Linked DNA regions of Homo sapiens: region 2 is linked to region 1. The links are contacts of gene promoters, found by promoter capture Hi-C in blood cells and fetal thymus (Javierre and others, 2016). All regions are on one chromosome and are shown on one strand. Each heading gives the region's core, a stretch centred on a gene start or on the middle of the fragment in contact. The rest is flanking DNA. Distances are from core to core; before and after follow the strand shown. Region 1 holds the start of CNTN5 (contactin 5). Region 2 overlaps LOC105369455 (a long non-coding RNA gene).

The links. The method cuts DNA at HindIII sites, captures the fragments that hold promoters and counts their contacts. A CHiCAGO score of 5 or more calls a contact.
Region 2: a contact is called between a fragment that was not itself captured here and the fragment with the promoter of CNTN5 in region 1, in 1 of 17 cell types (megakaryocytes). The highest score is 5.6, in megakaryocytes.

What each region holds. Positions count from the first base shown.
Region 1 is chr11:99,016,529-99,023,535 of GRCh38, reverse strand. CNTN5 (contactin 5) reads right to left here and starts at 2,587. Exons shown (of 25, transcript NM_014361.4): 1 at 2,266-2,587. RefSeq lists a silencer at 10-210. The HindIII fragment of the contact is 2,136 bases long and covers 2,122-4,257 here.
Region 2 is chr11:98,447,375-98,454,381 of GRCh38, reverse strand. It overlaps LOC105369455 (a long non-coding RNA gene), which reads left to right. Exons shown (of 3, transcript XR_947946.3): 3 at 355-1,019. Among named protein-coding and RNA genes, the nearest start is that of LINC02713, 490 kb to the right of the region's middle. RefSeq lists an enhancer at 805-1,305. The HindIII fragment of the contact is 797 bases long and covers 3,605-4,401 here.

The sequences.
Region 1 (7,007 bases), core at 1,338-3,837:
TCTTCACAAATTATGCCTTTATTTTGTCTAGAAGTAAGACAAACTCCAAAATGCTTTGGCCAGCCTATGCGGGCCCTTTGCCCTTTACTGGCACCCTCTGGTCCATATTGCTAAGTCAGCTGTGACAGACAATCACACTCCTACCTCTACCCTGAAAGTGGTCAAGATTTTCTAAACTGTGAAGTAAAAGAGACATTTAAAGAAATACATATCAGCCAAACCTGGTACATTTCTAACAGATAGCGCTACTTAATTGGACACATAAGATTGAAGTAAATTTTTACATGCTACTAATTTTAATGATTCATCTTACATAAACATATTCTATGTATAGATTCATGATTTGATTTCAGGTTGGCTCCCTGACTAAGAATTGTTTCAGACCACCTAATACTTGAAGTACTAACTGCTCACCTTGAGAAACATTCAGGTATTTCAGCTATTCATTTAAAAATTCCACAACTGTAGCTTTTTGGATGTATTTCCAAAAGCACCTTGGTGTGCATGTGCCTCACAACTTATAGACAAAGTCCGGCATTTAGTTAATCTATGGGATTATATTTTTATATAACTTTTAAGAATCTAACTTTCTGTTCAGTTGTCTATGGAATCAGAAAGAAATTAAAATTAGCAGTTTTTCTCCTCCTTTCTCAATTTTCAGAAGTTTTAAATAATTTAAAGGATACACCAATTCCTAAGCAAAAACACTGGCACTTGTAATAATCATTTCACTGACTTTCTATTTTCAGATAGGCTTTAATATCATTCCCTCACACTCCAGCTATTTGTCAAATTCTATTCTTTATATTGAATTTCCCTTTTTATAACTTTAACTCTGATTTTTTTTGCCTTTTTCCCTTTAATGGACTTAGATGATCTTTTTATGTAATATCTTTAATTTGTTATCATTAGTTTTATATGACATATTCTTACTCATACCTCTTTTCGATTAGAGTCAGAGTAAACTTATGCCTGTTAAGTTTAAGACTCAGCATACTAGTCCCCACTTAACTTAGAATAATTTGAGCATGAAATAGGAGAATATGCAAGCAACCATGAGAATTGCTCAAAATTGACTACAGGCATTTTCAAAAACAGTTAATGACCTAATCATTATTTTTTAAAATACTGAGAGTCACAATATTAATCATAATGAACTCCTTTAAGCTCCCTGTAATGGTCATAAGTACTTCTGTAATTCTGTTGCAATTCAACAGTAATCGATGATATCTGCATTAATTTTTAAATTTGACTATTTGTCTATAATTTTAAATGCTAGTATTCTAATGAACATCTACTTCTTTCATCCTTATTTCCACAGTCGTAATTGAGAATCAAAGTAGAAGTATTGACCCTCTAAATGATTTTCTCTTTTAAATTAAGAAACAAATGAATGAAATGTAGGTAAGGCATTGAACATACAACAGTTTAAAAGTTTTTTGCTTCTCACCTGCATTTAAATTACCACATGAAATTGTATTTTTCTTGGGAGAACAGTTCTAAGATTTAAAAGTAATATAATTCTAAAATATTTAGTGGATTCTGGTTCTTTCGCAAATAAATATAGTTGAAACAACTTATTGTTCAGGTCATCAGAGTAATTCTCAGGTTTGTGTATGTGCAAATTGATATTCTCTTCCGTATATCTCCCTACAAAACATGGTAAGGATGTCTGAACATAATTTTTTAATCTATCACAATCCTATACAACCTTTAGAAAAAAGCTCAGCATAATCCAAGATACAGTTTTTCTCAGTCTCACGAACTTTGTAGAACTCCACTTATAGAGCATCCCTACTGAATTTTAACAAGTTATTGCAATGCCAGATGCCCAATTATTTAGTCTCGGAAACTCATTGCTCAAACATAAGGCATACATTCAGTACCTGAGAACGGCATCCTATTTTCCAAACATTTAGTTTCTTTTGTAGAAACATCCTCACTTTATCCTGGCATTTATTGCCTTACAATTTGCAATTTGCGTGTAGGAATTGCTTACTCTTATTTTGGGTGGCATTAGGAGATATACAAATAGGTTATATTTACTCTTGTTTCAACTTTTTGCCATAAAATCCCAGCAGGAAATAAAGTCGTGTTTTGTTTCCTTTATTTAAAAAAGCTTCATCTTACAGTTTTTACATTCTGGCAACATGGCAAGAAAGGATGGCTTTGCAGAACAGAGTGTGTCAAAAATCCTAAGTGGCTGGGAGATGAAGTGCACAATCACAGAACGCAGTCACTGGCAAAGGAATGTCAGCCACTTACCAATAAGATGCCAGACTCCACTGTCCTTCCTCTGTGACTCTCAATTCCTGTCTCCCATCCTCCTGCCCATCAGCACAGTTCAGAGAGAGCGGTTCCTCGGGTCCTTTGCAGCCTGTGGCAGAGGCGAATTGCGGAGTTCTTAATCATTCAGAGGGAATCCTCCAGCTTGCCCTGCCTCTCGCAGCAGACGGGACCCAGGTAACGCATCCTCTCCGCCCCGAGCTTTAATGGCACTTTGGCTGCCGCCTTCTCGCAGTTCCGCTCCCCCACGCCGTAGTTGGTTATATTGGGAAGTAGGTGCGGCGCCTCCTGCGGCTGGTGTGTTTGGGGCTCGCGTGTTTTCCTCCAATGCGTCCGCGCGCCCTGCGCCCCGCGCCTCTGACTGGCTGTGTCCTCCCGGGGCGGCCCCTCGCCCCTCCCCGGCCGCCCGCGCTGTCACCGGCGCCCGCGTCCAGCGCCTCACTGCCTCTTGCTGCAAAGGTTCATTGAGCATGTCCCTGGGCTTAACGAACTGTGCGCCTCCCGGAGGGTGCTCTGTGTTTCTCCACTCGTCTCACTAGTCAACCGGCATTTTCCTTCCCTGCTAAGTACAGAGGACCTGCCCCCCTTCCCCGAGCGTTTCTGCTCTGCAACCCCTCCGTATTTAACATTCATAGATTACAAAGCAAACGTGCTGGCTGGAGTCGGCACGGGAGATCCAGGCGAGAGTCCCTTCCTCCGCTCCTGTCTTCACTCTGATTCCTGTAGTCCCCGGCTCACACCTCTGACAGCAGCAGCACAGACTGACGCGTTCACTTAGGTCGGTTTGAGAGTGGACTTTTTCACTTTGCAGAATTTTCTTAAGTCCTGAATGGGAAGCACTTCTCTTTTGTTTCTGCACTTACGCGTTTCATCTAAGGACTATCAGGCTCTGCCTGTTTATATTTCTCTTTGATTTGGGGTGTTGACTCAGTTCTAAAAAAAAGCGAAGGAATGGTCTCAGCAACCTTTTTTTCGGAATTTTTATATTACAATGGCTGTAATTGGAAAAATAACACAGGTAGTAAATCCACAGTGTGGCAGCTTTAGTGCCATTGTTCTGCCAGTCCTCCTCTCTACTTTTTTTTTTTTTTTCCTCTCAGTCTTTGAGTCGTTTTCCAATTCCCACGATTGGGCTGATGGTAATTGGGTATTTGTTAAATAAATTATATAACATTTCCTTTGCAATATATTTCCATAGAGAATGTGGTTTGCACCTGTATTTAATGGAAAGGAAATCCCACGTACTGCTTTCTATCTCTGTGTCTGTATAAGAAACTGCATGGGAGTCTAGGGTCGCACCCCGTGTCCGCTGGTGTCCGTTTTTCATGTGTGTTTGAGAGCAGCCTGACCCTGGACTGACGCTGATTCTTCTGCTCACTGAATCCCCCGATGGGGTCTGACTGGCTCTAATTGGCAAGGAGAGTACAGTGCCAGGCAGCCTGTAGCTGGAAGCCGTCTACCACTAGCCCTGTGTTCTTTCTCTTGCAGTTTTTCTGGTAATTAAAATTAGTCTTTTCCTGTTTCTTGGCTGCTTCTCATTCATCCAATGATGTACAAACACCCAGTCTCTGCTTTTAATCGCTATCCTCAGGATCTAGGCTGATTGCTTGTTCTGTAGCAAAGACAAATTTGTGTGCATTTAATACTTCTCCACTCTTCCATACTTTTTATATTCGTGTTCCTGCTTTCCAGTAACTAGGTTATCTTCTTTATGTGTTAACTGAGGGATCGTTGTGGAGATTCCCCTTCTGTGGCTTTTTCTCTGCCCCACTGGCTCTTCTCCTCTGTCAGGCTGTCGGTTCACAGAGAGAACTACCAGGACTTTTATAACCACATTAAATACATCACAAAATAAATTCAAAGTGTAGGAGCTCTAACGCATTCTTTTTATTGTTCGATGAGGTTTTTGCCTTTAAAAGTGTATAATTGAGCACATGCAGCCTGAAAGAGGGATCGGGAGTGTAGAAAGCTTTCTGAAAGTTCTCTTCCCTTCTTAGAACACCATTCTATATTACCCATGATCCGATAATTTGGGCATTTTGAGTCATTATGTCACATAATTTCTTTCAACTAGCTTTGCCCTAGAAAGGATGTAAGTTGGCTTATAAAAATCTATTCAGTTTAAAAAAATGAATAAAAAATGTAGGTCAGTGAGATCAAGACAAACGGTAAAGTGATAGGAGGAGAGATAAGATGAAGCCAGAAATGAGGTTTATAGAGAAAACTGCATTGATGTTTTTGTTACAAATGGTGCTAGGTCTGCCATTAACTTTGTTAGCAGCCAATGTAAAGAAGGAAATGCTATCGGTCACATGATTCATGGTGCCCTCCTACCATTAACATGAACAAGAAAATTTACCTTTTACATGATGTAAATGGACTAAATATTTCTCCTTTCTTAAGCAAGAACTAAATAAAAGCTTTTAATGTTTCTACTTTTTATAAAGAGAGCAATATTATCACAAGACTATGGTGTGAATATATTTTTGAAACAAGTAGATAATGTAATAGCACTTTTCCTTGCGAAGTTATCTGATGCTTTAGAGGGAGAGAAAGGAAACGTTGAATCTGTTTAATTAAAAATAGTAAGGTCTATTTCTGTCAGTTCAAATTTAAAATGTTGACTTCAATCATTATTTGGGGGTGACTAGGTTACCTGGCTACACTTCATTCAGGACCCAGAAAGAGTGACTATATTTATTCTCATGTCTTTTATGACTTTTAATGTTCTAATTTGTAATAATATACAATTATATATTCCCTATTAATATCTATATATGTAACAGACAAACTGTTAGTCTATCTGACTCATCTTTCTTTAGAATTTTGCTGTTATGGAGTTAACTTATGTACTGTATATTTTTACAATTTTCTGCTTGGAGAGTAAGGGCTCTATAGATCAGGTACACTTCTGTATCCTTTTATATCCACAGTGTTCAGGTTTAAGCAGGTCAATGTCTGGAATTAGAGAAACAACAGTGCTTAAAATAAGAAACAAACAAACAAAACTCCTTGTTAGAGTTCCACTAAAAAGAAACAAACTACCTTGTGTTTTCCAAGTAAACATCAAATCTTTTCACATACCATGACCAAGATTTTCTACTATTGACATGTGAGAATGGGATTTTAAGTTATAGTTGTTTTGATGTAAGATTTGTCTTTAAAAGATATAAAAGTATGTATGCCCCATTATTAAATTCCAATGCTGTTTTCTTAATAAAATGGCATTATTAAAAGATCACTGGTTTTCTCTGTTTGATGCTAATGACATTTTTGAATTAACCAGCTCATCCTGTACCCTGGTAAAATATCATTTGTACATTAAGTTAATTAAAACATTGTTTGTAAGTGGGGTAAGTGGTTCAGTAGGTCACTTTCTCTATGCTATGGTTATGACACCTCAACCTAGCTGTCATGTTGCTGATCTGATCTTGTTGTCTAGCCATCTTTGTGTAAATGTCTTAATCTCTTTATCTCATCGTCCCCAATGGGCAAGCAAGCAGATGCAGCACATCTGTAGCAGTTGAGGTGCCTCTGAGCTTTTGTCTTATTTGTGTAACAGATTTTTATTGAAATCATGCCCTCCTTTCTCTTTCCCTTCATTTGACTCAGATAAGTTCTAGGTTCTAGTTAACAGATCATAACTATTATTATGTTCCATCAAATCATAGCATAACTGTAGGGAAGCAGACCAATGGTGAATTCATGTCTAGATCAGTCATCTTTCTTGGATCATCTGCCTTGCCTACTGGAGCTTCTTTTAGCATTTGCATTTTCTGTTTTGATGTTTTAATCCTCTATGTTAATGTGTTACCAATAATGGTGAATGGGTAAGTACTAAGATAAAAATTAAAGGAATCAAAATCTTGCATTTTCAATATATGCCAGTATTCCCTATAAGTGCAAAGTAACACATGAAGAAGCAAAAGTAAACTTTTACTTGAACTGGACAAAATATGATTTTAATTATATTTTGAGTTTCTTAGAAGATGTGTCTCAGTACTCATATCACAGCTGTTTTGTGAAAGCAGAAGTAAACATATCTTAATCAGACTTGGAAAATATACCAACTTAATTAATTTAACAGCTGCTTCAGTAAACAACGCTAAAGAACATAGTCTACTTTGTGGATGTCTTGATAACATCGGCAACCAAAACCATTAAGAAGTATGAGAGAGGAGCTCTAATTCAACTGTGGTGGTCAAGCTTTTGGTGGTCACAGTACCAACTCTTACTTACAGAAGCTGCAAATATCTAATCTCCTGTAGGTGGAATTTATGCTCACCCTTTGTGACATTTTGGTCCAACTATTTATGCAAACCATAAACATTTGCAGTTAATTAAGATTTTAGAAAATAGAAGTAAAAGTTGAAATCTTACTAATTTAAAGGTAAAGTTTACTTAGTTTTCATCCAGTAGATTCCTTTAGATATGCATTTCTATTTTTTTTTCTTGGATATATTTTAAGTCTCAGGATCTCTATCAGTTTTAATTCACTTACCTTTACAGATGTCTAATTTTTCTTTTATGTAGCATTCTCTCACCAAGACCTCTGGATATAAAGTTGTTTCCATAAAGAAACAAAACCAAAGATTCATTTGCTCATGACCAGGTAAATACCTCTGTATTGTCACTGTTTACATACCATTCTTCTCAGTATGGGATAAAAATGTCTAATGGTTTCTTAGAATTAGTCTAATTTGTTCTTTATGGTTTTAAAG
Region 2 (7,007 bases), core at 2,754-5,253, 570 kb after region 1:
TAATAGAGACGGGGAGGCCCAGGAAAGAAAGAGGAGATACAGGAAAGAGGCAGAAGTTTTAATGGTCACTGTGCAAGCCCACAAACCCCAGAGTTCCTAAGGTACACCTGTTAACTGCTAAACTATGGCAAGAAGAGTTATCTCTCTTCTAAAGTTTATCCACTCCCATACAAGGTTTAATTTCTTTCACCAGGGTGAAACAGCTTGGGGTAGAATGTTGTTGTTAGTATATTTCATGTTTTTCTCTGTAATCTTTGGCACTACATTCTTGCCTTGTATAATACACATGTTTAACCCATGCATACTTAACCTTATAAAACTTGTTTCTTTTTTTTTTTTTCCTCTCATGCCTAGAAGCCATTGGCTGCTCTTTGCAAGGAATCCTTAGACAGACCTCTGGGAGGAATCTGACTACTGTTTTCCCCAAAACAATACGCCATCAGCAGGAAGCGGCTAAGACCAGTCATCATCCATATTTTAAAGGCAGTTACACGTACTTCTTCAGAGGGGGAAAATGATATGGAAGGGAGGAAGGGAATTGCTGGGAAGGGAAGGGCATGGTCCCTTTAAATGATGCGGAAGGGGTAAAGGGCATGGTCCCTGGCTAGGGCTCCACTCCCGGGCCTGTACCCATGGACCTAGGTGAGGACAGGAATTTTTGTTTTCCACCCAAATGTTGCATTTCCCAAGACCACCCTGGCCTGCCACACCCCCATCCTGTGCCTATAAAAACCCCAAGACCTTAGCAAGCAGACACACAGGCATCTGGACGCCAAGAGGACCACACCAGCGGAGGAACGCACCGGAAGCTGGACTTTGAGAGGAACGCACCAATAGGCACCAGCATGCCGGCAGGCCACCGACCGGCAGAAAGATGCAGAGTTTGGCCAGGGCAGTCGCAGGAGAGCCCAGGCCACCAAGCAGCCCAACTCCAGGGGAAAACCATCTTCCTTCTTGCTCCCCCGTCTGCTGAGAGCTACTTCCATTCAATAAAACCTTGCACTCATTTTCCAAGCCCATATGTGATCCAATTCTTTTGGTACACCAAGGCAAGAACCCAGGGATACAGAAAGCCCACTGTCCTTTAGGCAGGGGTCTAACTGAACTGATTAACACAAGACACATGCCCGCTGCGGTTTCAGCTGTAAACATACCCCTAGACGCTGCCTTGGGGTCAGAGCCCTATAGCCTGCCCATCTGTATGCTCCCCTAGAGGTTTGAGCAGCAGGGCACTGAAGAAGCAAGTCACACCCCCATCACACACTCTGCTAGGGGAAAAAGGGAACTTTTCCTATTTCACAAGGTAACCCTAGCCATACAAATCCAGTTATATATAGCTAAATTCAACAGATTGAGCATTTGAAAGAGAAATCATCTACATTCATGGTTGTATATTTTTAACTTACCTCTTTGAGTAGATGATAGAACAAGAGAAAGTAATTCATTAAGAATGAAGTAGATTTAGAAAACAAATTAACAAATTTGAACTAATTGACTTTTTAGTATATGTATCTGTGTTTCTATAAAATGATATAATGTCCCACTAAACAAGTCAAGATTATATATTTTTCCAAGTGAACGGACAACTATTACCAAAAGTGACTATAAATCTGCTTATGAAATGTCTTGAAAATGTAAAATAATTGAAATTTCACAGAGTAGTATCTCTGAGTACAATAGAATTAAACTAGAAAATACCAACAAAATAAAACTCTCATATGATCCCAAATTTGCTAATTAGGTTACACATTCCTAAATAACTCACATGTCAAAGAAGAAATCTTGGGGAAAATAGTTGAACCAAAATAAAACTGAAAATATATCAAAACTTTGTGAGGTAAAAATTGAGTTCGGGAATGGTAGTGTAAATAAAATAAAGCCATTCTCCTTTGCTGATTACAACTAAAACCTCTAGGGAAGAAAGGAAAGGAAAGGCTGGGCTCGATGGCTCACGCCTGTAATGTTACACTTTGGGAAGCCAGGAGGTGGAGGCTGCAGTGAGCAGAGATCGCGCCACTGTATTCCAGCCTGGGTGACAGAGCAAGAGACTCTGGAAAGAAAGACAGAGAGAGAGAGAGGAGGAGGCAGGAGGAGGAGGAAAGGAAGGAAGGAAGGAAATGAGGATTCTAAAAAGTACACAAAAATGGAAGATTGTGGACATGAATCAACACTTGAGTTGGTAACATAAAAATATCAGAAATATTAGATATCTGGGAAAAGTTTTTCAGAGAAATATATCAAGAAAAACATTGAAAATATTAAGTAGAAGTGGAAAAGATTCAAGATTAAATAGTTATGATTGCAAAAGCAAAAACTTAAATCACTATTTAAAACAAAAATTATAACACAGGCATGTAGAGTTTAGATGTATGCAAATACAATTCATCTGACAGTGATAAAATGAAAGATGATAAGGAAAGATTTAAATGGAAGTTTTCTACATTTTATGACAAGTGATACAATATTAATATTTAGAAGACTGTGAAAAGATTAGGTATTATATTGTGTTTCTTAGGGAGAGCATTAAAGCTGTATACAAAAAGTAGAGGTAAAACGATGAGACACTGGAATGGCTAAACTCCAGAATACTGACAATAACAATTGCTGACGAGCATGTGGAGCAACAGAAACTCCCAGTCATTGCTGGTTGGAATGCAAAACTAAAAAAAAAAAAAGACAGTTTGGCAGTTTCATATAGAACAAAACATACTCTAACCATATTATCCAGTATTCATGTTCCTTGATATTTACTCAAAGGAGTTGAGTTCATATGTCCATATAAAACCCATACACAGATACTAATAGCTCCTTTTTCATAATTGCTAAAACTTGCAACCAAGATGTCCTTCCATAGGTGAAGGAATAAATAAAATGTGCTACATCCAGACAACAAAATATTATTCAGTGCTAAAAAAATGCGCTGTTATGACAAGAAAAGACAGGGTAGAAACTTAAATGCATATTACTAAGTAAAAGAGGACAATTTAAAAACCCTACATACTGTTCCAACTCTACAACATTCTGGAAAAGGCAAGAGCAACATATTGCCTTCTGCTTTGAGGCCTGAGTACATAATATTGTTTCTCCCTGAGACACTCTGTCTTACTGTTCACCTAGCTAATTCCTACATTTGATTCTCATCAAAATTTAAATATTATCACTCAGAGGAATCTCCCCAAATCCCCAGTGCAAATTAAGCAATATTTTTATCCTTGTACTTATCACAATTTTTGTTATACATGCATTTGTATAAATATTTATATATGTCTAAGAATACATCATCAAACAGATATACTTTTAAGTACCTGTAAATAACAATCTTAATTCATTATTTTTACATAAGCATGATATTTCCATTAGTACCTAATAAATTGCACCAACAAAATTTAGCACTTTAACTCTTAAATTCTAATTTGTAAAGAGCTGTGGCCCATCGTACTTGGGCCAAAAATATGTTCTTTAAGGTAAAATTTTATCCTTGTTATTTAGTCTTAATTATTTCACTGTGAATCCTTTAACGTATTAGTAAAACAATTGTATGGAACTGCAGAAATCTTCCAAGTTTATTTACACCTAAAATTATTCGACTGCTATTTTGGAAGCTTTTAATTTATTCATTTGAAAAGGAAATGAAAGATGAGGGGAGACATCTGAAAAACTCACATATAATTGATTCATTATTGTTTTCTCTTATATGCTCATTTATTTTTTCCCAGTTTTATCTTTTTTAGTCAATTGATTATCCAAACATTTTAGATAAAATAGTGCTAAATGTAAGAGAATATCCACAATATAAATTTTTCAACACTTTTGTTTCCTAACCACTCATCTACACCAACATATGTGCACGGATGCATGCCATGGTTAATTGTATGTGTCATCCTGACTGGGCTAATGGATGCCCAGATAGCTGGTAAAACATTATTTTGGGGTGTGTCAATGAGGATGTTACTGGATGAGATCAGCACTTGAGTGGATTGAGTGAAGAAAGTCACTCGAAGTATGCATCTTCCAATTCCTTGAGGGCCTGAATAGAACAAAAGGTGGAGAAAGGGCAAGTTTGCTTCCTGTTTGTGCTTGAGAAATCCATCTTCTTTTGCCCACCCTTGCACATTGCTGCTCCTGGTTCTCATATGTTCAGACTGACTGAATCACGCCACTGGCTTTCCTCTGTCTTCAGATTATATATCTATCTATATCTATATCCACATCTATAGCTATATCTATCTGTCATCTATTTATCTATCTATCATCTATCATCTGTCTATATATAGGTTCTGTTTCTCTGGAAAATGTTGGCTAATTCAGTACATATATCACATATGCCCTTCAGTATACATATGCAAGCACACATATATATGCATGCACAGACTCACACGCACACACACATAGAGCCAAGCTTTTCATTCACAGCATTAAGAAACATTTTGAATAAAAAATTCTTAAGAAATTCAATTTAAGTATTTGCCAGAGGAATTTTTTTTCAAATGTCAAAATATTGCAAAATAATAGACCTTAAGGATATGGGAAAATCAGAACAAAGCCTGTTATATTTGCTCTTGTAATTCTACCTAGGAGAATCTAATAAACTCTGCAATGAGAGCATATGTTATAAGCTAAAGCTAATATCTGACACCATAGAGATGCAAACAATGAAACACTTCCTACATTTCAATGAAGAGAACTGTTCTGTCATCCGTTTTATACAAAATTACTAACTGGCAGAAATTATGTACTTATGAGGGATGCCAATACACTGGCAAAATACAGTGAGTATTTTCATCTCAAAACTCCCAAATTTTTTTTTTACAGCTTGGTCTTGCCTTGTTTTAATAGGATTCATTTTATCCTTGGTGATACAATGCTGTTTCAGCAAGAAGTGATCACTTATCAGGCAAATTAAATTCCTACTCAATTTCCTTAACAATAACTCAAAAGCATGGATATCAGCACTTTGGGATTCAAGGAGAATTTATTACAAGTGAGACAAAAGTTTTATCTGTATATGTAACACATTTTGATGAATACTAAAATATTTGTAAATGATTACAGGGTTCATTTCAGCTGTAATATACCAAAGTATATTAGGAGTAAACAAATGTCTCTCATTTCAATTATCAGTTACATATTGAATATTTTTCTACCAAGAGAAAAGCAAGTTCTACAAATTATTTTAATTTTTATTTTCTCTGTTGATGATTACTGGAGCAAACAAGCACAGACAAATGTAGTGGGTTGCTTATTTCTTTACATGACTATTTAAAATAATTGAGTCAATTATTAGGCATAAAAAAAGTACAAGAAAATTGTTTTATGATAGCTACTAGAGCTAACAATTCACTGAAACAGATAATTGAACACCAGTAATATACTAGGTCTTACCTTGGATCCAGATTTAGGTGCATTACCATAGAGGATGCAAGTGAAAGATTGTGCCCTCAAAAGATAATGTTCCTTAGGATGTCAGCTATAAGAAATGAAAATAAAACTCTCTTGATTCGGAGTTGGTAAGGTCTATCAAGCTATCAACCATCCATATATCTAAAGTTAACCATAATACAAATGTCTTTCCTAGGTCCTTTAGAGTTAATACTGCTTTAAAGGAAATTTGAAAATTTACTGAAATCAGATTTTTTTTCTTGCTTTTATTCCCCTGGTTCAGTATAGTACAGCTTAGACAAAATAGAAAGATTCATATATTTGGGCTTATTCAGATTTCAACCTAAAATTAAATTATTTTAAATTGTTAAATGTACTTTATGCAGTGCATTTGCAGGAATCCTCAATGCCCAGGTTCTTTAAAAGTTTTATTCTGTTAAAGTTATAGGAATATTCCTAGTTCCAACATAATACCTTGCTTTTTGTTTTTAAAATCCTTGTTAAAATGTTAGTCTTACTTGGATTGTATAACCAAGCCATAATAGCATGATTTAATTTTACTTATAAAGAGAGCTGGGTTCCCAACTAAGCCCTAAGGAAACATAACACAGGATGTGCCGGGTAGGGACAGTAGTCTTGGTTCAAATACCAATCTATCTCTTTTACACCACGTTTTCAAAAATTTTCATGAATCAGTGTTTCTTCATTTGTTATTTCTTTTAATGACCATTTCTAGAGACGTGTGTGTGTGCGTGCGTATGTGTGTGTATTTTCACCAGTTCGATTGTAGAGTGAGTCAGCAGAGGTCCTCACATTGTCATGCTAGAATCCTCCAAGTTCTTTATCAGAAGTAGTTTTTCCAACAAATAAGGTTTTTTTTACTATGTATAGAAGGTAAAGTTTGCCACCATCAAGAGTTATACTCTCTTGTCTAGGAGTTTACTGGTTTATATGTTCATAAATTCAAACAGCCTTTTGTTTCAGTCTCATGTCACTTTTAAGACATGCTTCACTATTATGCTGAAAAGCCATATACTAGTAATGTATCCTGTTCATTCATATTTTTTTTAGAAACCAAATGAAATACTCTTTTTTAGTCTTTTTTAGGTTGTTCTCAAGCTTTATTTTTTTCCAGGCTATTTATCACCAACCATCATTTCCTTACCAGGATGTATGGAAGTAGATATAACTAACTTTGTTTAGAAAATTTTGTAGTAATAACTGTGGAAAATAATAGTAAACTTTGTTCAAGAACCAACAATGAGAAATATTTAGCACATGTAAATAAGTGAGTACTTTAACAGGCATTTTCCTCTATAGTGAGAATGCTGGAGTGTTAACATGACACTTGCTCCACAAATGCAATAAAGAATTATTGGTTTTTGAGTCTGCATTGAGCACTTCAGACACTTCAGGCTGTTTGTAAAAAATTAAAAACAAAGGGGAAGTGTTGACTAATATAAATCCAAGCAGATTTAACCCAAATAAGATTACTTCAAGACGTGTAATTATCAAACATTGCTCAGTTGCTGGATCTGTAATATAATTAAGTGAGAACAACTTCAACGGAATGCAATTCTAACCAGTTTGAAACTCAAATAATCCTTGGTGGTTTCATCTAATTCAGC